Regions from separate parts of the Homo sapiens genome. Here all the other regions are linked to region 3. Evidence: promoter capture Hi-C in human tissues and cell types (Jung and others, 2019). All regions are on one chromosome and are shown on one strand. The core of a region is centred on a gene start or on the middle of the fragment in contact, and the rest is flanking DNA. Distances in the headings are between cores, read along the strand shown. Region 1 overlaps CDC42BPB (CDC42 binding protein kinase beta). Region 2 has its middle 25 kb from the start of HSP90AA1. Region 3 holds the start of ANKRD9 (ankyrin repeat domain 9). Region 4 overlaps TRAF3 (TNF receptor associated factor 3). Region 5 overlaps TRAF3 (TNF receptor associated factor 3). Region 6 overlaps CDC42BPB (CDC42 binding protein kinase beta). Region 7 overlaps HSP90AA1 (heat shock protein 90 alpha family class A member 1).

Region 1 (4,282 bases), core at 13-2,512, 440 kb before region 3:
ATAAACAGCAAAATTTTGATAACAAAACTAAGTCTATAAATTAGCTTTTACTAAATCACAGCTCTATTCAGAAACAACCCTGTCATACACAGTACAGGAAATTACCATCATTGTTACTGGAACGATGGTCATTTGGTAGCATGCGTGCTCAGAGGCTGCTCACAGGGAGGCATGATTTGGGCCAGTGTTTTTGAGATCTGCTTTTCCTGGACACATTTTCAGAATCTACTTTTATAATGATTATTCAAGAAAGCAGATTTAAAGTAGGCAGCTACTCGTAGTTTTGACAAAAGCAGAATTAACGAAAATGGGACCAGGAAGCGATCTCACGGGGCTGTTTAGAACCCCGCCCCTTCCGTGTCCTGCCGCGGGAGCCTCTGCAAGGCGCCCAGCGAGGTGGAGTCAGGGGTCCCTGCCTGGGAAGCACATCAGCCCCCGTTGCTCCTGGGGTGCGTGGCTCCAGCAGGGCCGTGGTAGCTGCGTGCGGCTTTGGCGTTTGATGACTTCTCTCTTCTCTTCTGTTTCCTGTCATGAAGGTGACGGCCTCTCTCTTAGGTGCACCTTCTAAGACCAGCTCGCTGCTCATTCTGACAGAAAATGAGAATGAAAAGAGGAAGTGGGTTGGGATTCTAGAAGGACTCCAGTCCATCCTTCATAAAAACCGGCTGAGGAATCAGGTCGTGCATGTTCCCTTGGAAGCCTACGACAGCTCGCTGCCTCTCATCAAGGCCATCCTGACAGCTGCCATCGTGGGTACGTCCCAAAGGTTGTGTCCTTCAGGTGTCTGAAGCAACAGCACTTCCGGCGGCGCTGCAGTGCCCATCTGAAAATCAGATGAAGGTCACAGGTCCATTTGGGTTTGTAGACAGTTTCTCCATGCATGTTAAGAAGCAGACGAGGCCGGGTGCGGTGGCTCACGCCTGTAATCCCAGCACTCTGGGAGGCCAAGGCGGGCGGATCACAAGGTCAGGAGGTTGAGACCATCCTGGCTAACACGGTGAAACCCTGTCTCTGCTAAAAAAAAAAATAAAAATAAAAATAAAATATAGCTGGGCGTGGTGGCGGGCACCTGTAGTCCCAGCTACTTGGGAGACTGAGGCGGGAGAACAGCATGAACCCAGGAGGCAGAGCTTACAGTGAGCCGAGATCACACCACTGCACTCCAGCCTGGGCGACAGACCGAGACTCCGTCTCAAAAAAAAAGCAGATGACCTGTGCGGACAGTACAGTTGGCCCCGGCTAAGCCTGAGGGTCAGCTCCAGGAGCCCCACACACACCCAAATCCTTGCAGACTCAATCCCACAGTCAGCCGGCCCTGTGGAGTTCGTGTAGAGAGAAAGTCACCCCCGATACTGAAGTGTCACATCCCTGGAATGCTGTATTCTCATCCACATATGGTTGAAAAGTATCTGTGAATGAGCCCACCCACGCATTCAAACCCATATTGTTCACGGTCGGCTGTACTGACTTTGTGTATGTTACTTACCCCTCCACAGATGCAGACAGGATTGCAGTCGGCCTAGAAGAAGGGCTCTATGTCATAGAGGTCACCCGAGATGGTGAGTGAGCAGGGCGTTTCCAGCCTGGGATGTCACAGGCCCAGCCTGGCCTCTGCAGACAGCACAGGGTCAGTAGCTCCTAAGGGTTAAGACAAATGCGCTTGATGAAGGCGCCGGAGGGGCCAGCGTGCCGTGAAGACCGGCATCGAGTGCATGGCGACGCGGTGCTAAGTTGCGTATCACATCCATCGAGTTCTTCAAGGGGAGCACTGAGCGGGAGTGGGTGGGGGGTCAAGGAAAGCCCCCTGGGAGGAGGAACAGCTGCAGCTTTCCCACATGTGCTGAGGCTTCACTTGAGAAGCTTTAGTTTCTTTGCTTCCAATTTTGACACTTCAGTCTTCCCAGCGAGGAAGGGCAAAGGTATCCTGGCATGCACCCGCTCCACAGCCCTGGGTCTAGGAGCAGAAACGTCAGGAGACTGGAACTGGCCATGGGCAGGGGGCAGGGGCCCAGGGGAGCATCCCTCAAGGAATCCAGCGACATTTCATGTGAGCCATAGTCCTTTCCCGACAGACCCAGCATCTCTGCATGTGATGGCCGTGGAGCGAGAAGGGCGGGGCAGCCGCTGGGCGAGGCCGTACCCTGGCAGCTCTGTGGGGAGATCTGAGCAAGCGAGGGGCTTGGGTTAGCCTGGGGGCCGTGTGAGGGCGGCGTCTTCACTGGGGGCCGTGTGAGTGTGAGGGCAGTGTCTTCACTGGGGGCCCTGTGAGGGCAGCGTCTTCAGAGGATTTGTCTCAGGGTCCCAGTGGGTTGGGGACAGCTCTTTGTCCCTCATGTGCAGCGTGAGGGCCCTCTGGTTCGGGGATGAGCTGGAAGGAGGCCCAGATCACCCCAGGGCCTTGCTGCGCGAGGACCCAGGTGGAAGCGCTGCCCAGCTGGAGCCCTGGTGCACTGAGGGGTGTGCACAGCAGCAGAGGCAGAGGAGCCTTTGGACCAGCCCCCGAGGCTGCCCCAGGAGCGCGCTGTGGATGTGGGGCAGCTTCTCCGGGGGGCGTTCAAGCCACTGGCTCTGTGGGCAGAGACGGGCTCAGGGCCGGGCTCAGGCTGTGCACACAGGAAGGGAGCCCAGGGGAGGGCCCCAGAGTGTTCCAGGCAAGTCTTTAGCCAAGGCCGTCAGCCCCTGGGAGCTGCTGGCTGTCCCGTCGGCCTCACGCTCTTGTCCTCCTTGCCACAGTGATCGTCCGTGCCGCTGACTGTAAGAAGGTACACCAGATCGAGCTTGCTCCCAGGGAGAAGATCGTAATCCTCCTCTGTGGCCGGAACCACCATGTGCACCTCTATCCGTGGTCGTCCCTTGATGGAGCGGAAGGCAGCTTTGACATCAAGCTTCCGGAAACCAAAGGCTGCCAGCTCATGGCCACGGCCACACTCAAGAGGAACTCTGGCACCTGCCTGTTTGTGGCCGTGAAACGGCTGATCCTTTGCTATGAGATCCAGAGAACGAAGCCATTCCACAGAAAGTTCAATGAGATTGTGGCTCCCGGCAGCGTGCAGTGCCTGGCGGTGCTCAGGGACAGGCTCTGTGTGGGCTACCCTTCTGGGTTCTGCCTGCTGAGCATCCAGGGGGACGGGCAGCCTCTAAACCTGGTAAATCCCAATGACCCCTCGCTTGCGTTCCTCTCACAACAGTCTTTTGATGCCCTTTGTGCTGTGGAGCTCGAAAGCGAGGAGTACCTGCTTTGCTTCAGCCACATGGGACTGTACGTGGACCCGCAAGGCCGGAGGGCACGCGCGCAGGAGCTCATGTGGCCTGCGGCTCCTGTCGCCTGTAGTATGTATATGTTTTCTGTTGCATATCCCTGTTGCTGCTTTTCCCACCGACAGTCAGCATGTGTTCGATTTTGCTTTGGTTTGTCTTCCAGTCCCTTAGTTGAGTAGTCACAGAGCATCGGGAGAGGTGGGCCCCATGCCAGCCCGCAGCAGAGAGCATGGTTCAGATCTCACGTCTCAGACCAGCAGTAGGCGGGCTCAGCAACCTCTCTCCCTGAGCACATGGGGCCGGTTCTTCCAGAGGCCTCAGCAGAGGACCCCGTCGGCGGGCATAGGCCCCTGGGCAGAAGGGCTCGGCGAACCGAGAACGGGGCGTGGCATTCATCTCTCATTTAAAAGGCCTTCCTCGTGATAATACAGAAACTTACACAGTAGTAAAGACAAGCTTGAGGGGTTTTGGTGGCCAGAAAATAATTCACCTCTGGTGTCTTAAGTTACAGTCCCTCTAAGGACAAGTATTTTCTGAAAGTGGTAGGGGCTGTTTTTCAAACAGTTGGGTCACTGAATTCGCCTAGTTGGCATGACTTTCTCTATGAATGGTGGCACTGGGGAACAGGTAGGACCAGTGGACACTTCCCGACTGGCCCGCTGTCCGATTGCTTTTAAAACCTTAAACCGGGTGGAGAGCGGTGGCTCACACCTGTAATCCCAGCACTGTGCGAGACTGAGGCAGGAGGCTCACTTGAGCTCAGAAGTTCAATACCAGCCTCATCTCTACTAAATAACAAAATATGGCTCACACCTGTAATCCCAGCACTTTGGGAGCCCAAGGCAGGGCGGATCACGAGGTTAGGAGATCGAGACCATCCTGGCTAATAGGGTGAAACCCCATCTCTACTAAAAATACAAAAAAAAATTAGCCGGGCGTGGTGGCGGGCGCCTGTAGTCCCAGCTACTCAGGAGGCTGAGGCAGGAGAATCGCTTGAACCCAGGACACAGAGGTTGCAGTGAGC
Region 2 (3,929 bases), core at 958-3,457, 400 kb after region 3:
ATGAGACTCTTGAGCCTGGGAGACATGAGATCATGACTCTGCATGACAGAGTGAGACTCTGTAACAAAAAATAAATAAATAAAATAAATGGGGGCGGGGTGCAGTGGCTCACGCCTGTAATCCCTGCACTTTGGGAGGCCAAGGTGGGCAGATCACGAGGTCAGGAGATCGAGACCATCCTGGCTAACATGGTGAAACCTCGTCTCAACTAAAAATAGAAAAAATTAGCGGGGCATGGTGGCAGGCGCTTGTAGTCCCAGCTATTCCAGAGGCTGAGGCAGGAGAATGGCGTGAACCTGGGAGCCAGAGCTTGCAGTGAGTCAAGATCATGCCACTGTACTCCAGCCTGGGCGACAGAGCGAGACTCCGTCTCAAAATAAACAAATAAATAAATAAAAATAAAAAAATAAAATAAATGAGTATGCCTGGTGCGGTGGCTCACGCTTGTATCCCAGCACTCTGGGAGGCCAAAGCAGGCAGATCACTTGAGGTCAGGAGTTCCAGCCTAGCCAACATGGTGAAATCCCGTCTCCACTAAAAATACAAAAATTAGCCAGGCATGGTGGGGCATACCACACCTGTAATCCCAGCTACTCGGGAGGCTGAGGCAGGAGAATTGCTTGAACCTGGGAGGCGGAGGTTACAGCAAGCCAAGATCACAACATTGCACTCTATACTTCACTCCAGCCTGGGTGACGTAGTGAGACTCTGTCTCAAAAATAAATAAATTAATTAAAGAAAGAAAGAGAGAGAGAGAGAGAAAGCAAGCAAGCAAGCAAGCCGGGCGCGGTGGCTCACACCTGTAATCCCAGTACTTTGGGAGGCCAAGGCGGGCAGATTGCCTGAGGTCAGGAGTTCGAGACCAGCCTGGCCAACATGGTGAAACCGTGTCTCTACTAAAAATACAAGAATTAGCCAGGTGTGGTGGCAGGCACCTGTAGTCCCAGCTACTTGGGAGATTGAGGCAGGAGAATCGCTTGAACCCGGGAGGCAGAGGTCGCAGTGAACCAAGATCGCACTACTGCACTCCAGCCTGGGCAACAGAGTGAGACTCCATCTCAAAAAAATAAATAAATAAATACAAACAAAACAAATGACACAAATGAACAGAAAAAATAATATTGAAGAAAACAGGCTGTACAGGGAGATGCGAATTTACAACAAGTGCTAATATTAGTAGTTTAAATAGATATTGCATCTATGAAATAAGAACGGTCTGCATTCTTGTAAAAAACTTAGGAAAATAAAAAACCTCTTGAATATTAAAAACTTAACAGCAGAAATTAAAATGCTAGAAGGGTTGGAAGAGAAAGTTGAAATCAACTGGGCACAGTGGCTCACGCCTGTAATCCCAGCACTTTGAGAGGTAAAGCCAGGAGGATGCCTTGAGGCCAAGAGCTCAAGACCAGCTTGGGCAACATAGTGAGACCTCCATCTCTACAAAAAAATTTAAAACTTAGCTGCACATGGTGGTGTGTGCCTCCAGTCCCAGCTACTCAGGAAGCTGAGGTGGGAGGATCTCTTGAGCCCAGGAGTTCAAGATTACAGTGAACTATGATCACACCACTGCACTCCAGGCTAGGCAACAGAGCAAGACCCTGTCTCTTTTAAAACAAAAAAAAAGGGAGAGCCAGGCACGGTGGCTCACGCCCGTAACCCCAGCACTTTGGGAGGCTGAGACAGGCAGATCATAAGGTCAAGAGATCAAGACCATCCTGGTCAACATGGTGAAACCCCATCTCTACTAAAAATACAACAAAAATTAGCTGGGTGTGGTGGCGGGCACCTGTAATCCCAGCTGCTCAGGAGGCTGAGGCAGGAGAATTGCTTGAACCCAGGAGGCACAGGCTGCAGTGAGCCAAGATCGTGCCAGTGCACCCCAGTCTGGGAACAGAGTGAGACTCCGTCTCAAAAAGAGAGAGAGAGCATATAATAGAAGACCACCTAGAGAATCTAAGAGGTCCAAACTCCAAACACTGTAGGAGGAAATTATCCACAAAATCTTCAAGTAAAATTTCCAGAACTGAAGAACATGAGTTTACAGAGGGGATGAGCCCACCAAGTGTCCAGCAGAATGGATAAAAATAGATCTATACCAAGGTACATCACTTTGAAATTTTAGAACACTTGGAATAGAAAAGATCCTACAAGCTTCCAGAGAGAAGAAATGTCATATAAAAGGGATCAGTAATCAGAATAGCTTGACTTGTAAACACCACCACTGAAAACCATAACACAAGTAGGAAAAAAAGCTCTTTTATGCTATCTTGATGTATCTTTGCCTCTGTTGTTCATTGATGGATCCCAAGTGCCTAGAGGCAGTGCCAGGCATGTACTAGAGTCTCAGTAAAAATTTATTGAATGTAAGAGAACAATTGAGAAATGGCTTCAAAATTCTGAGGAAGTATTTATTCCAGCTTATAACTAAACCAATATATCACTCAAGTATGAGTTTAGAATAAAGATATTGTGGGACATGCAGGGTTTCAATTTACCCTCTTTGTGCCCCTTCTCAAGAAGCTGTGAAAGGATATGCTTTGTTTTGGGCCAGTTTCTCCCATTTGGAAGGGGTGTATTTACCCAATGCCTGTACCCCCATTGTATCTAGGGAACATGAAAAGGGAAATCTAGGCAGAGGTTCCCAAACCTCAATTCTTGACTTCCATGCACCTGCAGGCTCAGTACCATGTGGAAACTGCCAAGGCTTGGGGCTTGCACCCTGTGAAGCAATGAGCTGTTCCTTGGCCCCTTTTAGCCATGGCTGGAGTGGCTGGGACTCAGGGCACCAAGTCTCTAGGCTGCACAGAGCAAGGGGGCCCTGGGCCCGGCCCATAAAACCATTTTTTCCTTCTAGGCCTCCAAGCCTGTGATGGGAGGGGCTGCCGTGAAGACTTCTGATATGCCCAGGAGACATTTTTCCCATTGTCTTGGGAAATTAACATTCAGCTCCTCGTTACTTAAGCAAATTTCTGCAGCCAGCTTGAATTTCTCCTCAGAAAATGGGATTTTCTTTTCTAGTGCATTTCCAGGCTGCAAATTTTCCAAACTTTTATGCTCTGCTTCCCTTATAAAACAGAATACTTTGGCTGGGTGCAGTGGCTCATGCCTGTAATCCCAGCACTTTGGGAGGCAGAGGCAGGTGGATCACCTGAGGTAAGGAGTTTGAGACCAGCCTGGCCAACGTGGCAAAACCCCATTTCTACTGAAAATACAAAAAATTGGGCTGGGCGCAGTGGCTCACGCCTGTAATCCTAGCACTTTGGGAGGCAGAAGCGGGTGAATCACGAGGTCAGGAGATCGAGACCATCCTGGCTAACACGGTGAAACCCCATCTCTACTAAAAAATAGAAAAAAATTAGCCGGGCGTGGTGGGGGGCACCTGTAGTCCGAGCTGCTCGGGAGGCTGAGGCAGGAGAATGGCGTGAACCCGGGAGGCGGAGCTTGCAGTGAGCCAAGATCGTGCCACTGCACCCCAGCCTGGGCCACAGAGCAAGACTGTCTCAAAAAAAAAAAAATTATCCGGGCATGGTGGTGGGCGCCTGTAATCCCAGCTGCTTGGGAGGCTGAGGCAGGAGAATTGCTTGAACCCGGGAGGCAGAGGTTGCAGTGAGTCGAGATTACACCATTGCACTCCAGCCTGGGCAACAGAGTGAAACTCTCTCAAAAACAAACAAACAAACAAACAAACAAACAAACAAAACTGAATGCCTTTAACAGCACCCAAGCCACCTCTTGAATGCTTTGTGGCTTAGAAATTTCTTCCACCAGGTACCCTAAATCATCTCTCTCAAGTTCAAATTTCCACAAATCTTTAGGGCAGGGCAGGAGCAGAATGCCACCAGTCTCTTTGCTAAAACGTAACATGAGTCAGCCGGGTGCGGTGGCTCACACCTGTAATCCCAGCACTTTGGGAGGCCAAGGCAGGTGGA
Region 3 (4,061 bases), core at 599-3,098:
CCATCTCCCCAAGATGTCCCCCAGGGTTTGGGCTCCCAAAGGCCGATTGTTGACTCCAGGACCTTCACTCACTTTGCTCTCCCCACCATCGTACTCAGAGGCATCCAGAACCGGCAGATGGGAGAAGCCCTAGGGAGATAGGCCTAGATACAGGAGGAGACATGTGGAGCTGAGGCAAAGGCGGGTGCGGATGCCAGGCCCAGTGCCCTCTATACCCCTACTCCTGCTGACAACCTGGCTGCTGTAAGCTTGGCAGTTGCCATGGACTCCCTGGGAGAGATGGCGTGGCCTGGAACGTCCCCCGCCCTGAGGTGGGGCAGGGCTGGTGGGGTCTGGTCATCCCCCTGGTGGGTCCATGCATGGCAGCCTGGGCAGGATACATGTGAGTGCCTACCTGGGCTGGGGTGGCCTGACCCTCTCTGGGCCTCACAGCTTTGTCTGCCTCATGGTACTGTCCACCTGGCCTCTCAGGACTGCTCTGTGGCGTGTGTGCTTAAGGGATTGAGCTCGTTGGGCTGGGGACAGAGGCCTGCCTAGGTCTGTTGAGAGGGCCCAGGTAAGACTTCCACCCAGACTGACTGGCTGGGGCACACAGAGAAGCCAGGACAGGGCTGATTGTGTGTGCAGGGGCGTGCCCTCTGGACGAGGCCCCTCCCACCGGGGCGAGGCAGAGGCCTTGCTTGGTTGGAGCGGAGTGGGGGAGTGGGAGGGTCTCCCTGGTGAGATAGTACTGGAAGGGCAGGGACAGCATTCTAGGGAAGGAACCAGAAAGAGCCCCTGCATGGAATGTGGGGATTTCACCATGAGACCCCGGCTGCCTGGCCTCTGAGAACGTGTGTGGGGGGATTCCAGGTGGAAGGTCGTGTCTGGGAGGATGGGTGGGGGGTTGAGCAGTCATTGCCCCTCTCCAGATCTGCGTCCACATCTGTAAAATGGGCCTAGAATTCCCAGCCGCTGGGGGCGAGTGAGGCCATAAATTAGTTGAGATGGACCCAGGCTCCTAAGCCCCCTAGGTCATGACCCCAAACCTTGGAACCCCCGACGGAGACGGTGGGGGTGGCCGAGGCCCAATCGAATCTATCCCGCCCAGATGTGGGAAGAACCGCAGGGCAAACCCCCGGCTTCCCTCCTGGCCGCTCCTCTCTTTGAGGCCACCTCTCTGAGCCCTGATTTGCTGGCGGGTGAACTGGGGATCATCGTGTCCACTGTGGCTGGTGGTCGTGAAACGAAGTGGAAACATGAGTGTTGAGGCCGAGATGGGCGCAGTGCGCGCTCCTAAACAGCTGTCCCCATCCGTCCGCCCCTCCCTCCCTTGCGCGGGTCAGCTGGAGCGGGGGCGCGCCAGGCACGACCCTGGCCGGGCAGAAGGCGGTGGAGCCCTTAGGGGTCGCGGCTCCTACCCCCGGCCCTCCCATGTGCAGATGGGGTAGCAGCCTGGAGGTTTTTCCCAAGGTCACGTAAGGTCAAAGAAAAGGGGAGCTGGACGCGACGAGGAAAGTCACGCACGGCGGAGGGCGGGCCACCTACGCGCGCGCCCGAGTTCGCAGAGCAGCGGCGCCCTCCCGGGCTAGGGCAGCTCGGAGCTCGGAGCCTTTCTTCGCCCGCAGCTCGGGTTCCGGGAGCCCCGCCCCCGCCCATCAACGCCCCGCCCCTTTCGCCACGGCCCCGCCCCTCCTCTCCGTTCTCCCCGCCGGCGCTCCCTCAAGTTTCTCCGAAGTTTTCCGCGGGTCCAGCGGTGCGCCCCGCCCGCCGGCCAGTGACGTAACAATGGTGCAGCGCGGCGGCCAATGGGTGGTGGCGGGGGCCGGCGGCGCGGGCCAATGGCGGCGGCGGACGGTCCCGCTGTCCTGCCTGGCCGGGGCCGCACTGCGCCGCCCGCCGCCCGCCGCCCGCCGCCCGCCGCCGGCGACGGCACCGCCGCCCTGCGATCCGGCCGCGGCGGCTCAGAGCGCGGCTGCGGCGGGCGCGGGCGGCGGTGGCTCCCTCCCGTGCGTCCGTCGTGGGACCTTTGCCCGCTCGCCCGCGGGGGACAGCGCGCGCTCCGGTCCGCGGCAGGGGCGGGGACGCCCGGCCTGTGGCCCCCGCGCCCCCCATGGTGAGTCCCCGTCCCCCGCGCCGCGCCCGCGGCCGCCGCCCCCTCCTCCTCCGGCACACGCGCACGCAGGTGCAGCCCTCGCTGCGCCGGCCACCTGCGCGCGGACGCCCCGCTCGGCCCCGCGACCCTCCGCCGCCCGACGTCTGGCCGTGCAGGCCGGGAGGGGACGGGTAGGAGGTGGCGGGTGGCCCCGGGCGCGGCGCTGCCTTCGATGGCCCAACCCCCTTATTCACGAGCCGCGGCCGTGACTCTGCCCGGTGACGTGGGGAGGCCGAACTTTACGTAACCCGCCCGGCGCCCCACGCGTGCCGGCACAGGGCATATCTGGGGCCCGGAGGCCCAGGCTTGGGGAAGGGGCTCCAGTCACGGTGTTGCCCACGGGCCACAGCCTACCCGCACCGCGCCGCTCTCTTTAACTCAGTTACTGCCAGTGATAGTGACCCAGTCAGTGTGTGTGGACGCGGCCTGCCTTCTGTCCCAGGCCCCTTGTGACCAAGGGCTTACCCTTGAAAGAAGGCAGTAGGGAGGTTGGGACGGAGCCAGAGGTCAGACGCCTAGGCTCAGGTCGGGGCTGGGGACTCAGAGGGCAGGGTCAGGGCCTAAGCTCGATTGCCTGTGGGTTGGGGGTCCCCACCAATTCTGGAATGAGCCCAAACTGAGACGCAGGGGACCTGAGTTCTAGGCCTGGCTCTGCCGTGGCTTGCTGACCTTGGAGAATTGGAGAAGCTTGTGCCCTGCTGGAAAGTGGGATGGCAGTACCCGCTTCATCTAGTAGTCGGGGAGATCAAGAGAGGTATGGGACCTGAAGAGGATGGCAGACTGTGCAGTGCGGTGCACACCGGTCTCCAGGTTGTTTTCACCCTCCTATCTCCTCCCAGGAGCTAACGTGTAAGCAAACATGTTTGGATAGAGGGCTGGTGCCACGCCCCAGGCTCACCCCGCCCGCACAGCCGTCGTCCACCCCTCCCCTTTCTTACAGATAAAGCTGAGGCTCGGCCAGGGACTGTGATATACCCACATCCCCGGAACTAGGTGATCGCGGTGCAGGAACCAGGTAGGTCTGAGTCTGGATCATGCCTCTGAACAGCCCAGGAAGAGGCTCCAGGGGCCTCCAAGTGGTCTGGGGTCGGAGATCAGGGTCAGGGTTGCGCTTGGGCTGGAGAGTGGATTTGCCTCAGCTTGAGATGTGGGCCCAAGCTTTCTCATCCCCTCCCTGGCCTTTTCTTTATTTGGGGTCGTATGAACCTGGCTTAGGTGGGAACAGAAGCTCTTCCAGTGGGTCCCTGGGTTGGAGAGGGGAGGGGAGATTTGAGGGCATGGGCAGCAAGGGCATTTCCAGCAGAGGTGCCAGAGAGCAAGTCAGTTTCAAGGAGGGAGAACAGGTACAGCTAGATCAAGGATGGAGGCGGTGGTTCTGGGCGTCGGAGAGATGGAGCTGTAGGGTGACTGGAAGGGCCTGGCCGAGGCTGGAGGTAGGTACAGGCCTGGTGGGCCAGGACCGGAGGGGCTGTGTGAGGGGCAGAGGGGAGTCCCCGGGCCTCCCCAGTTTCCCCGCGCCTCACCGTGGCCTCTTCCTTTCCCCGCAGGTGTGCCTTCGCGGGATCCATGCCTTGAGGCCCAGGAACGCCCCGCCGCCAGCATGCCGTGGGACGCGCGGCGGCCTGGGGGTGGCGCGGACGGCGGGCCCGAGGCCTCGGGCGCGGCGCGCTCGCGAGCGCAGAAGCAGTGCCGCAAGTCGTCGTTCGCCTTCTACCAGGCGGTGCGCGACCTGCTACCCGTGTGGCTGCTGGAGGATATGCGCGCCAGCGAGGCCTTCCACTGGGACGAGCGCGGGCGCGCCGCCGCCTACTCGCCCTCTGAGGCGCTGCTCTACGCGCTCGTGCACGACCACCAAGCGTACGCGCATTACCTGCTGGCCACGTTCCCGCGGCGCGCGCTCGCACCGCCCAGTGCCGGCTTCCGCTGC
Region 4 (4,253 bases), core at 1,588-4,087, 300 kb before region 3:
CTGTAATCCCAGCACTTTGGGAGGCTGAGGCGGGCGGATTATCTGAGGTCAGGAGTTCGAGACCAGCCTGATCAACATGGAGAAACCCCGTCTCTACTAAAAATACAAAATTAGCCAGGCGTGGTGGCACATGCCTATAATCCCAGCTACTCGGGAGGCTGAGGCAGGAAAATTGCTTGAACCTGGGAGGCGGAGATTGTGGTGAGCCGAGATTGTGCCATTGCACTCCAACCTGGCGACAGAGCGAGACTCCACCTCAAAACTAAATAAATAAACAAATAAATAATAACAAATACTGTCCAGGATGCAGAGAAAAGGCAACTTTTTTTTTTTTGAGACGGAGTCTCGCTCTTTCGCCCAGGCCGGACTGCAGTGGCGCTATCTCGGCTCACTGCAAGCTCCGCCTCCTGGGTTCACGCCATTCTCCTGCCTCAGCCTCCTGAGTAGCTGGGATTACAGGCGCCCGCCACCGTGCCCGGCTAATTTTTCGTATTTTTAGTAAAGACAGGGTTTCACCGTGTTAGCCAAGATGGTCTCGATCTCCTGACCTCGTGATCCGCCCCCCTCGGCCTCCCAAAGTGCTGGGATTACAGGCGTGAGCCACCACGCCCGGCCTGAGAAAAGGCAACTCTTACACACTATTGGTAGGAATGTAAACTAGTACAGCCACTATGGAGAGCAGTATGGAATTTCCTCAAAAGCTACAAATAGAACTACCATATGATCCAGCAATCCCACTACTGGGAATTTATCCAAAGGAAAGGAAATCATGACATCAAAGAGACATCTATACCCCATATTTACCGTAGCACTATTCACAATAGCCAAACAGGGAATCAATCTAGGTGTCCAACAACAGATGAAGAAAATGTGGTATCTATACAAAATGGACTACTATTTAGCCATAAAAATGAATGAAATCCTGTCGTTCACAGCAACATGGATAGAAGTGGAGGACACTATATTAAGTGAGATAAGCCAAAAACAGAAAGTTAAACACCACATGTTCTCACTAATACATGTGGAAGCTAAAAAAAGTTGATCTCACAGAAGTCAAAAGTAAACACAGGATACTAGAGGTTAGGAAGGGTAGGAGGATGGGAAAAATGGGGAGAGAGCTAGACAGGAACAGAGTCTAGTGTTCTATAGCACTGTCGGATGACTGCAGTTAACAATAATATATAGCTTCAGGCCAGGTGCTCTGGCTCACTCCTGTAATACCAGTGTTTTGGGAGGCTGAAGCAGGAAGACCACTTGAGGCCAGGAGTTTGAGACCAGCCTTAGCAACACAGCAAGACCCTGTCTGTACAAAAAAAAAAAAAAAAAAAAAAAAAAAAAAGGGCCAGGCATGGTGGCACAAGCCTACAGTCCTAGCTACTCGGGAGGCTGAGGCAGGAGGATCACTTGAGCCCACGAGTTCAAGGTTACAGTAAGTTATGACTGCACCACTGCACTCCAGCCTGGGTGGCAGAGTGAGACAGTCTGTACAAACACACACACACACACACACACACACACACACACTACTGCTGTAGCAGTATCCTCCTCACAATGTCAGCCCATCTTAGCAACTTCCGATCAAACTGAGAGTCAAATTGAGAGACTGTAATGAAGGCCTTCATCGCCTTTGCACTATGAGACAAGAGATCTGACCTCTGCACAAAAACAAACAAAAACCAAAAAAAAAAAAAAAAAAAAAAAACCGCCTACAGCGCAAACAGCTCCTTGAGCTCCTTGTAGGTGTGGCTTGTGGGAATGGTCAAGAGCCAGGCATGGCGGCACGGGCCTAATGTCCCAGCTACTCAGGAGGCTGAGGCGAAAACTGCTTAAGCCCAGGACTTCATGGCTGCAGTGTACTATCATCCAGGGCAGTACGACAGCACCTGTGAATAGCCACTGCACTCCCGCCTGAGGCAACATAGCAAGACTCTCTCTTAAGAAAAAAAAAAAAAAAGGTACCCATTGTTTGCTCAGAAGGACGCTAATACAGACAGCAGCAACGGGGCTCATGAGAAGAATCAAAGCAGCAAAAATCATGGGGATGCAGCAATTCGGCATCCCCTTAAGGATCAGGCTGTCCTCCACTCCACTGTGAGATACAAAGTGTATAATGCATGGGACTGGCGTCCTACAAGATGATCTAAGTGCATACATACTGAAAAAAGATGCAAAGACTATACACCAAGATGCTAATGGTGTGGGGATAATGAGGAAAATTATTTTATTTTTATCTTTATGTGTTTTCTCTGGGTATACATACAAAGTTAAGATACCTTTACCGAGCTTTCTCCTGAAGAATTCCTTCTTGATGTAAGTGACTGTAAAGGTTCTGCCCTCAGAGATGTCTTATTTCTGGGAATCCAGAATGTGTAATGGACTCGGGGTACCTTTTCTACGTTTCATCTCCCAAAGAATACGTCCACACCCAGGTAGGCTGATGCTGACACAGCAGACAACACTGACCTCCTCCATGCAGAAGTTTAACAGGTGAAATACAGTTACTGACATCAGCAAGAATTGTTGTCTTTCTCTTGATTCTCTCAGGTTCCTCAATTTATAGGATCACTGAGGCTTCACAGATGTCAGCTGCTGATCAAAACAATCATAAGCCCACATCATGATAAGCTCAAGATAAATCTTTAGCCTTAAGTCAGGAATTCTGGGCCCATCTGCATGTCAAATACCACAGAGCCAGTGTCTTGTGAACACTGCAAACACTTCTGAAGAACTACTTTATAAGTTCAGGAGAGCACATCTCAGAAAAAAATGGAATACTTATTTCAATTTCTCACAATTAACTCTAATTTATGACATTGACATTCTCCTACTTAAAAGCTTCTGATGGTCCACCACTCCAGAACTAAGCTTCAACTTGTAAAAGGGGCCATGATCACTGTCCTCACCACACACTGAGGTCACCCTATGTTCCCACCAGAGCCGACTGCACTGGGTGTGATGAACAGTATCTATACTCTCTCTCCCACTGCACCGCCCCATCCTCACCCAAATCCCCTCAAGATCAAAATTCTTTATCTTGTAAAACTCCTGCTCAAACATTACAGTTGTAGGGGGGAGGGGGTTGTTTGTTTTTTGGTAAAGCATTCTTGACCCTTTAAGCCAAGAGTTGGCAAACTTTTTTCCCATAAAGAGCCAGACAGTAACTATTTTATGTTTCATGGGTCACATATTCTTCTTTGCTTATTTTTACAATCCTTTAAACACATAAAAACTATTCTTAGACCCATAGTTTGCCAATCTGTTTTAGATACTACTGCCATGCCGTGCTCCAACGTTTTTGGTAATGCATGGATGGAGTATGTTTCATCAGTTTAACTTCAATCAGATGAACTTTCAAAAGCCAAACTGAGGTTTCCCTTTAAAGATCTGTTCTTGCCTACATGGTCTTTAAAAGTCTATGCTGTGGGCCAAGCGCGGTGGCTCATGCCTGTAATCCCAGCACTTTAGGAGGCCGAGGCGGGCAGATCACGAGGTCAGGAGATTGAGACCATCCTGGCTAACATGGTGAAACCCCATCTCTACTAAAAATACAAAAAATTAGCCGGGTGTGGTGGCGAGCGCCTGTGGTCCCAGCTACTCAGGAGACAGACAGGAGAATAGCATGAACCTGGGAGGCGGCGCTTGCAGTGAGCCGAGATTGCGCCCCTGAACTCCAGCCTGGGCAACAGAGCAAGACTCCGTCTCAAAAAAAAAAAAAAAAAAAAAGTCTATGCTGTGAAAGATTTTATTATAAAGCTTAAAAATAATCCTCATTTGGGATACATTCCATTTCCAGGAGACACAGAGCTTTAAGAAAGTCACTCTAGGCCAGGCGCGGTGGCTCACGCCTGTAATCTCAGCACTTTGGGAGGCTGAAGCAGGCAGATCACCTGAGGTGAGGAGTTTCAGACCAGCCTGGCCAACTGGTGAAACCCCGTCTCTACTAAAAATACAAAAATTAGCCGGGTGCGGCCAGGCACAGTGGCTCATGCCTGTAATCCCAGCACTTTGAGAGGCCAAGGCAGGCAGATCACGAGGTCAGGAGATTAAGACCATCCTGGCTAACACAGTGAAACCCAGTCTTTACTAAAAATACAAAAAATTAGCCGCGTGTAGTGGCACGCACCTGTAGTCCCAGCTACTTGGGAGGCTGAGGCAGGAGAATCTCTCGAACCTGGGAGGCAGAAGCTGCAGTAAGCAGGGATCGCGCCACTGCACTCCAGCCTGGGTGACAGAGCGAGACGCCATCTCAAAAT
Region 5 (3,932 bases), core at 478-2,977, 340 kb before region 3:
AAGATTCTGTCTCTAAAAAAAACAAACTGTTTTTAATTTTTTTTAAACAGCTAGCACACTGAACCTTATGTGACACAATTCTGTTTGTCCATATGTAGATCCAAAGAATTTCATGTCATCCTAAGTATCTCAATAGGAAAATTAAAAGGAGAAGTAAAGATATTAGAAGTCAATGAAAAACTAAGTTTCAGGGGATAATGTTTTAAATTACATGCAGAGAATTAAGGAGAAATAAGTGGCCAAGAGGACAACTGCAGCCTCACACACGGACCACACTGACTGATGGTGAGGACAGCAAGCAGGCCGCACTGGAGTCGGTCATGTCTCGTTCCCAGGCTGGAACAACAACACCTACAAGTACAGCTCCAAAAGCAAAGACCAAGTTCAAAGGCCCCAAACTAAATATCACTGTAAAAGAAAGCTCCTAAAACTAAAAGGCTAATTTTTTCTAAATTATCTGTGGTGGTTGTCGGGCATGGCAGCGTGTGCCTGTAGTGCCTGCTCAGAAGGCTGAGGCAGGAGGATCACTTGAGCCCAGGAGGTTGAGTCTAGCCTGAGCAAGAGAGAGACCTTGTCTGTAAAAAAAATAAAATAAAAATAAAATGTCTGTAAGGGTAATTTATTTTCTTTTGAGGTAATTTCTTTTCTTTTTTTTCTTTTGAGGTTATTTCTTTTATTTTCTTTCTTTTCTTGCCGTCACCCAGGCTGGAGTGCAGTGGTGCAAACATGGCTCACGGCAGCCTTGAACTCCCAGGCTGAAGCGATCCTCCTGCCTCAGCCTCCCAACCAGCTGGGACTACAGGCATGCACCACCACACCCCGCTAACTTTTCTATTTTTTGTAGAGACAGGGTCTCGCCATGTTGCCCAGGTAGGTCTCGCCAATGTGGCCCAGACTGGTCTCGAACTCCTGGGCTCAAGCAATCCTCCTGCCTCAGCCTCTTACACGAACCACCCACGAGGCCTGTGATGATAATTTCTTTTTTTTTGAGGCAGAGTCTTGCTCTGTCGCCCAGGCTGGAGTGCAGTGGCGCCATCTCGGCTCACTGCAAGCTCCGCCTCCAGGGTTCACACCATTCTCCTGCCTCAGCCTCCTGAGTAGCTGGGACTACAGGTGCCCGCCACCAGGCCTGGCTAATTTTCTGTATTTTTAGTAGAGACGGGCTTTCACCATCTTGGCCAGGATGGTCTCAATCTCCTGACCTCGTGATCCGCCCACCTCGGCCTCCCAAAGTGCTGGGATTACAGGCCTGAGCCACTGCGCCCGGCCCTGTGATGGTAAATTCTAATCTGTGACCATATCTGGTCCGTTCACACTGAGCTGTGGACAGGCAGGAATCCCGTGTCTTCCACACACAGACCTATCACCAGAAGTGGCAAGAAATAAGTGAGATTGCATATTTGGAAGGATTGTAAAAACCTTTGATTAGATTTCTTGATTTAAACATAAATACCTTTACTTCACTTGCTTATATATGGGTATAAAAATAGTTAAGTTCTATTTTTATCCTAAAATTTAGATATGACAATTATAAGTTAATGGCAATTCTACAATATTTATAATAATTATTGTGCTGATAAAGAAAAATTATGCAAATTCAGTTAAATGCATTAAAGATGGTATTTGAGGCAACTTTTAGTAACTTGCCAATTAATGTTTGGCATCCTGATTTGGGGGAGCAGCTTGCAGGTTCCAATGCCCAGATGCTGGACACATGCGCCTCTGGTTAGCACGGCAATCATACACATGCTGGGAATCTGAGGCCACTGCCTATTTAATAGCCCACTGCCTATCCTCACTGAGCATCAGGTTTGAGAAGATGTTTGCTTCCACACAGAGAGAAATGTACTGCTGAATGGCAACAACAGATCCACTAAGCAAAGACAGTGCTAAGAAAATTACAATGAAGGGAATTGTGTGACTAAAAAATGGCACCTATGCCAGTGCACTTTGAGCTAAGGAAGGGCCAAGACCAGAAACTACCAGGAGCGCAGCATCTGGCACTCTGAGCGCTGTAACTTTTTTTTTTTTTTTTTTTTTTTTAGACGGAGTCTCACTCTATCGCCCAGGCTGGAGTGCAGTGGCGCAATCTTGGTTCAATCCTACGCCTCCCAGGTTCAAACGATTCTCCTGCCTCAGCCTCCTGAGTAGCTGGGATTACAGGTGTGTGCCACCATGCCCAACTATTTGTATTTTTAGTAGAGACAGGGTTTCACCATGTTGGCCAGGCTGGTATTGAACTCCTGACCTCAAGTGATTCACCCATCTCGGCCTCCCAAAGTGCTGGGATTACAGGTGTGAGCCAGCACGCTCGGCCTGCAATTCTTATTCTGCAGTCTTCTTTAAGCAGAATTTTTACTCTATTACTTTACTTACTGTTTGCTACAGTCTTAGACATGAATTTACTGTATTTTGAGGTCTTGTTTTTAGCTAAATGAAAGGCATCTCTAATTATTTAAGAAAATTCTTTCATAAAAGTTTAGTTTGTAGTCAGCTACTCAGGAAGGCCCTCACTCACAGCTGAGGCATATCCATACCTAGTACAGCAAAGAGGTGGACTGGATTCCTTTCACTTTCTTCTATGCCTCCATTACCCTAATGATTTGTTTTATGTTCCCCAGTTCCATGATTTTAGTTGAGTTACACTGTAATTAGAATTTAAAAACTGGAAACAAAAGTACATCTGCTGACAAAAGGGTGCTCCAAGAGCTGGAAAGCCCGGGGAAAACCAAAAAAGGGAAGCATCAGATAAACAAAGCAAAAGGCTCCTGCCGCAAGAAAGCACAAAACACGACACACATGGAGAAAAGCAGCTCAACATCAAGCCCAGCAGGGCAATTAAAGGTATCGTCCAAGTGATGCCAATAAAGGGAGAAGGGCAAAGATCACGAACAGACAGGTGTGCCCTGCTGATAAGAAAGCTTTCTGAAAATCCACATTCATGCAAACATTTCAGCATACTGACTCTGTTCCTGGTACCTGATGCCAAATGTTCCACTGCGGGAGAGGGCCCACAGTCAGCATCCTGGGCAAGTAACAGGAGGCTGGATTCTTACCAGACAGGCAGGCAGAACACAGTCACACATGAAAAGCCCCCTTAGGACAGGGAGGGAGAGACACACAGACCAAGTGACTCAGGCAGACTCCTAGGAAAGAACCTGATTAAATCACAGTATAACACATGGTCTTAAAGCCTTTGAGAAAACAATAGTTATTTGGGGCCCAGCATTGTCAGTATCCCTTGGTTCATAAGAGTTAGGATTTTTAAAAAGTATTCATTCAATCCTTATTATATGCAAAGACACTGTGCCTCTTTTGGCCCACGACCAGAGTCCTGCCATCTGGACAGGAAGCAGCGAGAGGAGCCAAGGGCTCAGTCCACTCGATATGCAACCAAGTGCAGGCAGCACTTCTCCAGATGGAGGCTTCCCCTAGGTCACGCCTGCCACATGGGGCTGGAGCCCCGGGGCTGTATAAGGGGCAGAAGTTGCAAATGTGATAAGGTTCATCTTCCTGGAGTGTCAACTGTATTTGAAGACGTGAAAAGCATAAAACATGGCCATATTGAGAAGCAGATTATAATGTTTCGATCAATTGTTAGAATAAAACATGAGATTTCAAAAAACACTAGATCTGCCAGGCGCCATGGCTTAAGCTTGCAGCATACTTTGGGAGGCGGAGGTGGGAGGACTGCTTGAGGCCAGGAGTTCAAAACCAGCCTGGGCAACATAGCAAGACCCCATGATTTTTAAATAAAAAAGACAAAAGGAAAAAACAACAACAACAACACTGGATCTCACATCAGTGCAGATGTGTGCCTCCTGGTGAGGGCATCACGCACCTCTGAAGTACCTGTGCTGAAAGGCTGAGCCAGAAAGCGATCGAGCCTCTATATCCACCCACAGGCAGAAGAACATGTCCAGTGGAAACAG
Region 6 (3,952 bases), core at 259-2,758, 460 kb before region 3:
TGCTGAGGCCTCCAAGGAGCGCAAGCTTCGTGAGCACAGCGAGAACTTCTGCAAGCAAATGGAAAGCGAGCTGGAGGCCCTCAAGGTAGTGCTGGGCGGGGGTCTCTGCCCTTAACTGAGAGGGATGCTTATCTTTGCTGACGCCACCACATGGAAGTCACCTTGTGTAATGTGTGGTCCGGGCCGAGTGTCACCCGAGGCTGTTCAGACAAGACCCACATGTGGAGAGGTGGGGGGTGTGACCCCTGCCTTCGTGACTGCTTTCATTTTTAAAGGCCAAGTTCATGTTTTTCCTTTGTTATATAAAAGTTTCAGGCAATTCACAGTAAGTCCTAGGAAACGAATATCTAATTGGCTCATTTCCTACTCCAGCCCCATCAATTCATAGCCTTCTTCACATCGTGGTATTCTAAATTCGGTGCAGTTGAGTTTTGGAAAAGCTCCTTAAAGCCCGTAGCCTGCTGCTGACTGGGGAAGAGACAGGCTGGCCATCAGTCGGGGCCCACTGGTGGGGCTGGAGGGTAGCAGGGAGGCCGCGGAGGGCGGGAGTGGGGAAGGCCACAGTGGCCAAGTGGGCAAGGGGCCGGAGGCGGATCTCCTTGGCAGTATGGCGTGGCCTGGATCTCCTCATGTGTGAGCCGCGTGCGATGGGTCTGCCCTCTCCCTTCGCCTCAGTGATCTGGCAACTCTTCCTCTGGGACGTGGGCCTGAGATGCTGTTCCTCCCTGGCAGCGGGCTTGGCTGGACCTCGGCATGTGGTGCCCGAGGCTCCTGCCCCTTTCTCAGCCCTTGAGTCTCCTCTCTGCACAGCAGGCAGAGTGAGCTTGGCAGACCAAAGCCGGATCACATTCCTGTGCGGCAGGGCCTCCGTGGCTCCGCAGCTGTCCAGCAGCTACCCTCCTGCCTGCTCCAGCCCAGCAGTGCCTCTCCTGCCCCTCCTTGCCCCGCCACACCAGACACACTGGCCTCTCTGCATGCTGCAAACACTGCCAACACGTCCCACCTCACTCCAGCCTGTGCCCTTGTTCTTTGCCCCTAGCCTGACACCTCACTTAATAGGCCAGCACCTTACAGAAGCCGCCCCAGCCATCCTGGCACGCCCTCCACTCCCTACAACCTGGCTGGGGTGCACGGCCCCTCTGCCCCTTTACTGGTTTGCTGTCAGTTCCCGCCAGCCCCAAGAGAGCAGAGACCTCAGTGTCACCCCAGTCACAAGGAGGGGGCCCAGCACAGAGTCAGCCCTCAGAAGAATGCTGCAAGCATGAATGAACAGGGTGTGGGGCAGAGCTTCGGGGGTCCCAGGCAGACCTGGGCACATCCCCCTGCAAGGCCGTCTCCTGCTGTGACCCCCTAGAACCTGGATCACGTTAGCCAGGTCAGCTACGTCATCTGGTGTAGACCAGGCACACACAGTCCTTGGGAAGGTGTCTGCACTTGCTTGGGATGAAAGGGGTTGAAAGGACAGTGTGACCCTTGAGGACACAGAGGTTTGTCAATTTATGTTAACCTTTGTCTTCAGGTGAAGCAAGGAGGCCGGGGAGCGGGTGCCACCTTAGAGCACCAGCAAGAGATTTCCAAAATCAAATCCGAGCTGGAGAAGAAAGTCTTATTTTATGAAGAGGAATTGGTCAGACGTGAGGCCTCCCATGTGCTAGAAGTGAAAAATGTGAAGAAGGAGGTGCATGATTCAGAAAGCCACCAGCTGGCCCTGCAGAAAGAAATCTTGATGTTAAAAGATAAGTTAGAAAAGTCAAAGCGAGAACGGTAGGTTTTCATGAGCTTCTCAGTTCAGAAGATGCAAGCTGATACCCACGCCATAGATACGAATATCAGTGAAGTTACGAGCTTTTAAAACTGTTTCTCGCTCACCTTGGCAGGCATAACGAGATGGAGGAGGCAGTAGGTACAATAAAAGATAAATACGAACGAGAAAGAGCGATGCTGTTTGATGAAAACAAGAAGCTAACTGCTGAAAATGAAAAGGTAATTAATTCAAAGTACCTGAGTTAGCACTTTGTGTGGAAGTTGTAATTTAAAAAAAAATTATTTTTAATTTGTGTGGGTACATAGTAGGTATATATATTTATGGGGGAGTAGAATGTCGTCATTCTTGAGTCTTGGAAGTTTGGTTTTTTTTTTTTGAGATGGAGTCTCGCTCTGTCGCTCAGGCTGGAGTGCAGTGACGCGATCTTGGCTCACTGCAACCTCTGCCTCCCAGGTTCATGCCATTCTCCCACCTCAGCCTCCCAAGTGGCTGGGACTACAGGCGTCTGCCACCACGCCTGGCTAAGTTTTTGTATTTTTAGTAGAGACGGGTTTTCACCGTGTTAGCCAGGATGGTCTCAATCTCCTGACCTCATGATCCACCCACCTCAGCCTCCCAAAGTGCTGGGATTACAGGCATGAGCCACTGCGCCGGCCGAAGTTTGGTGTCTTTTTACAGTGCAGTAATGTGCCATATAACGATGCTTCCATCAATGATAGACTGTGTGTACAACAGGCGTCCCGTACGATCATAATACTGTACTTTACTCTACCTCTTCTGTGTTGAGATACACAGATACTTAGCATTGTGCTACAGCCGCCGGCAGCGTCCCGCACAGCAACATGGTATGCAGGCTTGGGGCCTGGAATTGACAGGCTGTACCACAGGGCCTGGTGTGCGGCAGCCGCACCGTCTAGGCTTGCGTGAGTGCATTCACGCTGTGTGTGCAAGGACACGTTTCTCAGACCGTGTTCTTGCTGTTTCACTACACGTGACTGTTTTAATTTTTGAATGGAGTCATGTGTTTGGTCTTTTAAATAGGATGTTTGTATTCAGCGAAAAGATGCCAATTGCCTGAAGTCACTAGCTCCAGCTCCATCAGTTTAGGTTTAGATTTGAATTGAAATGTGACTTAAGCTAGATACAGTGAAAAAAATCCATATCATGAACTTAGTTTGGAAAAATCTCATGACGATTAAAGAAAACTTTCAGAGTCTTCAAAAGAACTTCCAGTGTTAAATCCAGCATACTTAAAGGATGCCCGATTAACAAGTTCTGTGGTGAAATTGTTTCATTTCAGCTCTGTTCCTTTGTGGATAAACTCACAGCTCAAAATAGACAGCTGGAGGATGAGCTGCAGGATCTGGCAGCCAAGAAGGAGTCAGTGGCCCACTGGGAAGCTCAGATTGCGGAAATCATTCAGTGGTACGTGCGCGGCCCCATTAGCGGCCGTGAATCCGCTCCCTGCTCAGTCCATGGGGTCTGCCCCGCCTCTTCTGCCTGATCCTGTGCTCCACGCCAGGCCGTGCCTCTCAGGCTGGGGTGCAGGTCTCACTGCTGTTCCCCAGAACTTCTCATGTCTGGGGCAGTGGTTCTGTTGGAATAGAGGTGGAGATACGCCCCCACCAACCCACTGAAGGACTTGGGGCAAACCGTTCACACCCCTTGCGTTCTCAGAGACAGGGGAGGCAGAGCCCTCCCAAAGCGGCTGCAGAAGCAGCAGGGAGACTTGGAGCGAGCTGGGACCTGGCCCTCCGCTCCTAAGGTGTGAAGTTGTAATTAAAAAAAGAGTTTTTATTTTTAATTTTTGTGGGTGCGTAGTAGGTATATATATTTATGGAGTAATAGAATTTTTTCATTCTTGAGTCTTGGAAGTTTGGTGTCTTTTTAAACTGCAGTCATGTGCAATGTAACGACGCATCCATCAATGAGATCCCGTGTATACAACGGGTACACTGCGGGCACTCTAGCTGACGTGACACTGTGTCACTGTGTGCCGAGGAAGGCGGGAACGTCCCCTTCTTGTTTGGCTTCTCCCTGATAGCCATGCTTCGTGAGATAGAACATCTGTTCCCTCCTCCAGGGTCAGTGACGAGAAAGATGCCCGGGGTTACCTTCAAGCTCTTGCTTCCAAGATGACCGAAGAGCTCGAGGCTTTGAGGAGTTCTAGTCTGGGGTCAAGAACAC
Region 7 (3,886 bases), core at 171-2,670, 430 kb after region 3:
AACCGATTGGTGACATCTCCATGCTGTATTGTCACAAGCACATATGGCTGGACAGCAAACATGGAGAGAATCATGAAAGCTCAAGCCCTAAGAGACAACTCAACAATGGGTTACATGGCAGCAAAGAAACACCTGGAGATAAACCCTGACCATTCCATTATTGAGACCTTAAGGCAAAAGGCAGAGGCTGATAAGAACGACAAGTCTGTGAAGGATCTGGTCATCTTGCTTTATGAAACTGCGCTCCTGTCTTCTGGCTTCAGTCTGGAAGATCCCCAGACACATGCTAACAGGATCTACAGGATGATCAAACTTGGTCTGGGTAAGCCTTATACTATGTAATGTTAAAAAGAAAATAAACACACGTGACATTGAAGAAAATGGTGAACTTTCAGTTATCCAAACTTGGAGCACCTTGTCCTGCTTGCTGCTTGGAGGTATTAAAGTATGTTTTTTTTAGGGATAAGTAAGGTCTTACAAGAGCAAAGAAATGAAATTGAGACTCATATGTCCTGTAATACTGTCTTGAAAGCAGATAGAAACCAAGAGTATTACCCTAATAGCTGGCTTTAAGAAATCTTTGTAATATGAGGATTTTATTTTGGAAACAGGTATTGATGAAGATGACCCTACTGCTGATGATACCAGTGCTGCTGTAACTGAAGAAATGCCACCCCTTGAAGGAGATGACGACACATCACGCATGGAAGAAGTAGACTAATCTCTGGCTGAGGGATGACTTACCTGTTCAGTACTCTACAATTCCTCTGATAATATATTTTCAAGGATGTTTTTCTTTATTTTTGTTAATATTAAAAAGTCTGTATGGCATGACAACTACTTTAAGGGGAAGATAAGATTTCTGTCTACTAAGTGATGCTGTGATACCTTAGGCACTAAAGCAGAGCTAGTAATGCTTTTTGAGTTTCATGTTGGTTTATTTTCACAGATTGGGGTAACGTGCACTGTAAGACGTATGTAACATGATGTTAACTTTGTGGTCTAAAGTGTTTAGCTGTCAAGCCGGATGCCTAAGTAGACCAAATCTTGTTATTGAAGTGTTCTGAGCTGTATCTTGATGTTTAGAAAAGTATTCGTTACATCTTGTAGGATCTACTTTTTGAACTTTTCATTCCCTGTAGTTGACAATTCTGCATGTACTAGTCCTCTAGAAATAGGTTAAACTGAAGCAACTTGATGGAAGGATCTCTCCACAGGGCTTGTTTTCCAAAGAAAAGTATTGTTTGGAGGAGCAAAGTTAAAAGCCTACCTAAGCATATCGTAAAGCTGTTCAAAAATAACTCAGACCCAGTCTTGTGGATGGAAATGTAGTGCTCGAGTCACATTCTGCTTAAAGTTGTAACAAATACAGATGAGTTAAAAGATATTGTGTGACAGTGTCTTATTTAGGGGGAAAGGGGAGTATCTGGATGACAGTTAGTGCCAAAATGTAAAACATGAGGCGCTAGCAGGAGATGGTTAAACACTAGCTGCTCCAAGGGTTGACATGGTCTTCCCAGCATGTACTCAGCAGGTGTGGGGTGGAGCACACGTAGGCACAGAAAACAGGAATGCAGACAACATGCATCCCCTGCGTCCATGAGTTACATGTGTTCTCTTAGTGTCCACGTTGTTTTGATGTTATTCATGGAATACCTTCTGTGTTAAATACAGTCACTTAATTCCTTGGCCTTACAGTGTCTCAAAGTTCTTTACAAATCTACTTAAAGCCATCCTGGCTGAGGCAGGAGAATCGCTTGAACCTGGGAGGCGGAGGTTGCGGTGGGCTGGGATTGCACCATTGCGCTGCAGCCTGAGCAGCAAGAGCGAAACTCCATCTCAAAAAAAAGATGAAAAAATCAGCCCAATAGGTAAGAGTCCCTCTGGGGACTGGGGGTGGTAATGGCTAAATAAAAGTCTTCACTTCTGAAATTTGGTGGTTCTAGAGACAAAACTTGGTTAGATAGCATATAGGATTTGCATTCTGAGCCTAACGCCATATATAAAAATGATAGGAAATGCCTGGGACTTGGATATGTGACAGTGTCTAAGGGGGCAGTGCACAGGCAGGGAGAGACCTTGTCTCAGTCTCGTGCTAAGCAGGTATTGAATGCTTGGTAAATGGCAATCACGTTTAGTCCTTTAAATTCTCTGAAAAGTTCTTAATCCCCTTCGATAATATACAGGAGGAATTACGTAAATTGAGGTCTTAGTAGTGGCTGAATTTAAATTTAACTCCAAAGCCCCATTTTATTCTGCTAAGTTTTGTTGCGTACTGAAAGGTGTTAGAAGAAAGGTTTACGGTGTTAAACTAGGAAGTGAATGGCAAAAAGGGTAAAAAGTCAATTTTGTTTTTTCCCAGGTCTAGCAAGAGAATATTAAATCTTAAGATTTCTTTCAATTAAAAACATAAGGCACTTGAGGGAATCAAGTCAATATAGAACCTCTATAAATGATCTCCCAAATGAACTCATCCTCCTGGAGTTACTGGGAAAGCATTTATGGCAAATAGGTCCAGATGCACAGGTAAGTACCCATCTCCCAGCAACCCCCATGCTGGAGACTGTACCACCAAGAAGATGGATCCCCAGCCCAGTGAGTGAGAAGATGAGCTAGATGACACATGAATGTCATGCTGAAAATGCCCTTGCACTGCTCCAGGACCACAATTCTTACCCTATTGCTTCAAAATTCACTGTTGTTTCAAACCTTCCATAATCAAGTTCCATCCTGCCAGGGAGGGTGGTGAGTGCTGAAAAGACATGCAAACTGGACAAGAGAATTATAGATGACATGGTCGTCTAGGTAGGAAACTCATAAGGAATCTACCAAAATTATGCTAGAAATGATTTTAGCATAGGATAGTTGAGCCAGGCATGGTGAGTCACGCCTGTAATCCCAACACTTTGGGAGGCAAAGGTAGAATTGCTTGAGCCCAGGAGTTCAAGACTGTCTAGGCAACAAAGTGAGACCCTGTCCCTCTGAAAAAATTAAGGCCAGGTGTGGCTCATGCTTGTAATCCCGGCACTTTGGGAGGCCAAGGTGGGTGGATCACCTGAGGGTCAGGAGTTCCAGACCAGCCTGGCCAACATAGCAAAACCCCATCTCAACTAAAAATACAAAAATTAGCTGGGCGTGGCGGCAGGGACCTGTAATCTCTGCTATTCGGAAGGTTGAGGCAGGAGAATCACTTGAACCCGGGAGGCGTAGGTTGCAGTGAGCTGATTGCGCCACTGCACTTCAGACTGGGCAACAGAAGGATACACCGTCCCAAAAAAAAATTTAAAATAGCTGATCATGGTGGCACATGCCTGTAGTCCAGCTACTTGGGAGGCTGAGGTGGGAGGATTGCATGAGCTCAGGTGTTTAAGGCTGCAGTGAGCCATGATCATTCCACTGCACCCCAACCTGGGACACAGAGCAAGACCCTGTCTCTATAAAGATAAAAAAATGAAAGAAAAGCAGTAGTTGCCTGGGGCCAGGAGTCAGAGCAGGGAGTGACTGCAGAGAGGCAAGAAGGAACTTTTGAGGGCAATGGAAGTGCTGGAAAATGATCAGGTGGTGCCAGCTGTGTGTGTGTATATATATATGTTTTTTCTTTTTTTTTTTTGAGACGAAGTCTCACTTTATTGCCCAGGCTGGAGTGCAATGGCGTGATCTAGGCTCACTGCAAACTCCACCTCCCGGGTTCAAGCGATTCTCCTGCTTCAGCCTCCCGAGTAGCTGAGATTACAGGCACCCGCCACCATGCCCGGCCAATTTTGTATTTTTAGTAGACAGGGTTTCACCATGTTGGCCAGCCTGGTCTCGAACTCCTGACCTCAGGTGATCTGCCCGCCTTGGCCAGCTTTAAGTGCTGGAATTACAGGCATGAGCCACGCACCTG

Evidence for each region. The method cuts DNA at HindIII sites, captures the fragments that hold promoters and counts their contacts. A contact is called where the count stands out against the background at its distance.
Region 1: a fragment that was not itself captured here is called in contact with the fragment with the promoter of ANKRD9 in region 3 in 2 of the 25 tissues and cell types used here (adrenal gland and dorsolateral prefrontal cortex).
Region 2: a contact is called between a fragment that was not itself captured here and the fragment with the promoter of ANKRD9 in region 3, in 1 of the 25 tissues and cell types used here (spleen).
Region 4: a fragment that was not itself captured here is called in contact with the fragment with the promoter of ANKRD9 in region 3 in 3 of the 25 tissues and cell types used here (H1 embryonic stem cells, dorsolateral prefrontal cortex and hippocampus).
Region 5: a fragment that was not itself captured here is called in contact with the fragment with the promoter of ANKRD9 in region 3 in 1 of the 25 tissues and cell types used here (mesenchymal stem cells).
Region 6: a contact is called between a fragment that was not itself captured here and the fragment with the promoter of ANKRD9 in region 3, in 2 of the 25 tissues and cell types used here (dorsolateral prefrontal cortex and mesenchymal stem cells).
Region 7: a fragment that was not itself captured here is called in contact with the fragment with the promoter of ANKRD9 in region 3 in 1 of the 25 tissues and cell types used here (dorsolateral prefrontal cortex).

Annotation. Positions count from the first base shown.
Region 1 is chr14:102,942,939-102,947,220 of GRCh38, reverse strand. It overlaps CDC42BPB (CDC42 binding protein kinase beta), which reads left to right. Exons shown (of 37, transcript NM_006035.4): 28 at 537-753; 29 at 1,497-1,559; 30 at 2,734-3,330. Among named protein-coding and RNA genes, the nearest start is that of AMN, 22 kb to the right of the region's middle. RefSeq lists an enhancer at 877-2,076. The HindIII fragment of the contact is 4,076 bases long and covers 1-3,300 here.
Region 2 is chr14:102,110,173-102,114,101 of GRCh38, reverse strand. It overlaps a transcript of HSP90AA1 not described here. Among named protein-coding and RNA genes, the nearest start is that of HSP90AA1, 25 kb to the right of the region's middle. The HindIII fragment of the contact is 6,059 bases long and covers 1-3,929 here.
Region 3 is chr14:102,507,563-102,511,623 of GRCh38, reverse strand. It overlaps ANKRD9 (ankyrin repeat domain 9), which reads left to right and starts at 1,848. Exons shown (of 4, transcript NM_152326.4): 1 at 1,848-2,095; 2 at 2,778-2,983; 3 at 3,075-3,149; 4 at 3,682-4,061. The coding sequence starts at 3,735. LOC105370679 (a long non-coding RNA gene) reads right to left here and starts at 1,581. Exons shown (of 4, transcript XR_007064352.1): 1 at 73-1,581. RefSeq lists enhancers at 1-484, 485-1,130, 1,131-1,774 and silencers at 1,255-1,304, 1,465-1,904, 2,899-3,060. The HindIII fragment of the contact is 3,197 bases long and covers 1-3,057 here.
Region 4 is chr14:102,809,000-102,813,252 of GRCh38, reverse strand. The region is part of intron 1 of TRAF3 (TNF receptor associated factor 3); the gene reads right to left. Among named protein-coding and RNA genes, the nearest start is that of TRAF3, 34 kb to the right of the region's middle. RefSeq lists silencers at 1,491-1,600, 3,410-3,569. The HindIII fragment of the contact is 3,490 bases long and covers 1,093-4,253 here.
Region 5 is chr14:102,848,800-102,852,731 of GRCh38, reverse strand. The region is part of intron 2 of TRAF3 (TNF receptor associated factor 3); the gene reads right to left. Among named protein-coding and RNA genes, the nearest start is that of AMN, 72 kb to the left of the region's middle. The HindIII fragment of the contact is 5,301 bases long and covers 1-3,932 here.
Region 6 is chr14:102,966,284-102,970,235 of GRCh38, reverse strand. CDC42BPB (CDC42 binding protein kinase beta) reads left to right here. Exons shown (of 37, transcript NM_006035.4): 14 at 1-85; 15 at 1,520-1,764; 16 at 1,878-1,983; 17 at 3,066-3,190; 18 at 3,849-3,952. Among named protein-coding and RNA genes, the nearest start is that of AMN, 46 kb to the right of the region's middle. The HindIII fragment of the contact is 7,838 bases long and covers 1-3,952 here.
Region 7 is chr14:102,078,547-102,082,432 of GRCh38, reverse strand. It overlaps HSP90AA1 (heat shock protein 90 alpha family class A member 1), which reads left to right. Exons shown (of 11, transcript NM_005348.4): 10 at 1-322; 11 at 612-1,691. The coding sequence ends at 721. Among named protein-coding and RNA genes, the nearest start is that of HSP90AA1, 6.6 kb to the left of the region's middle. The HindIII fragment of the contact is 4,613 bases long and covers 1-3,726 here.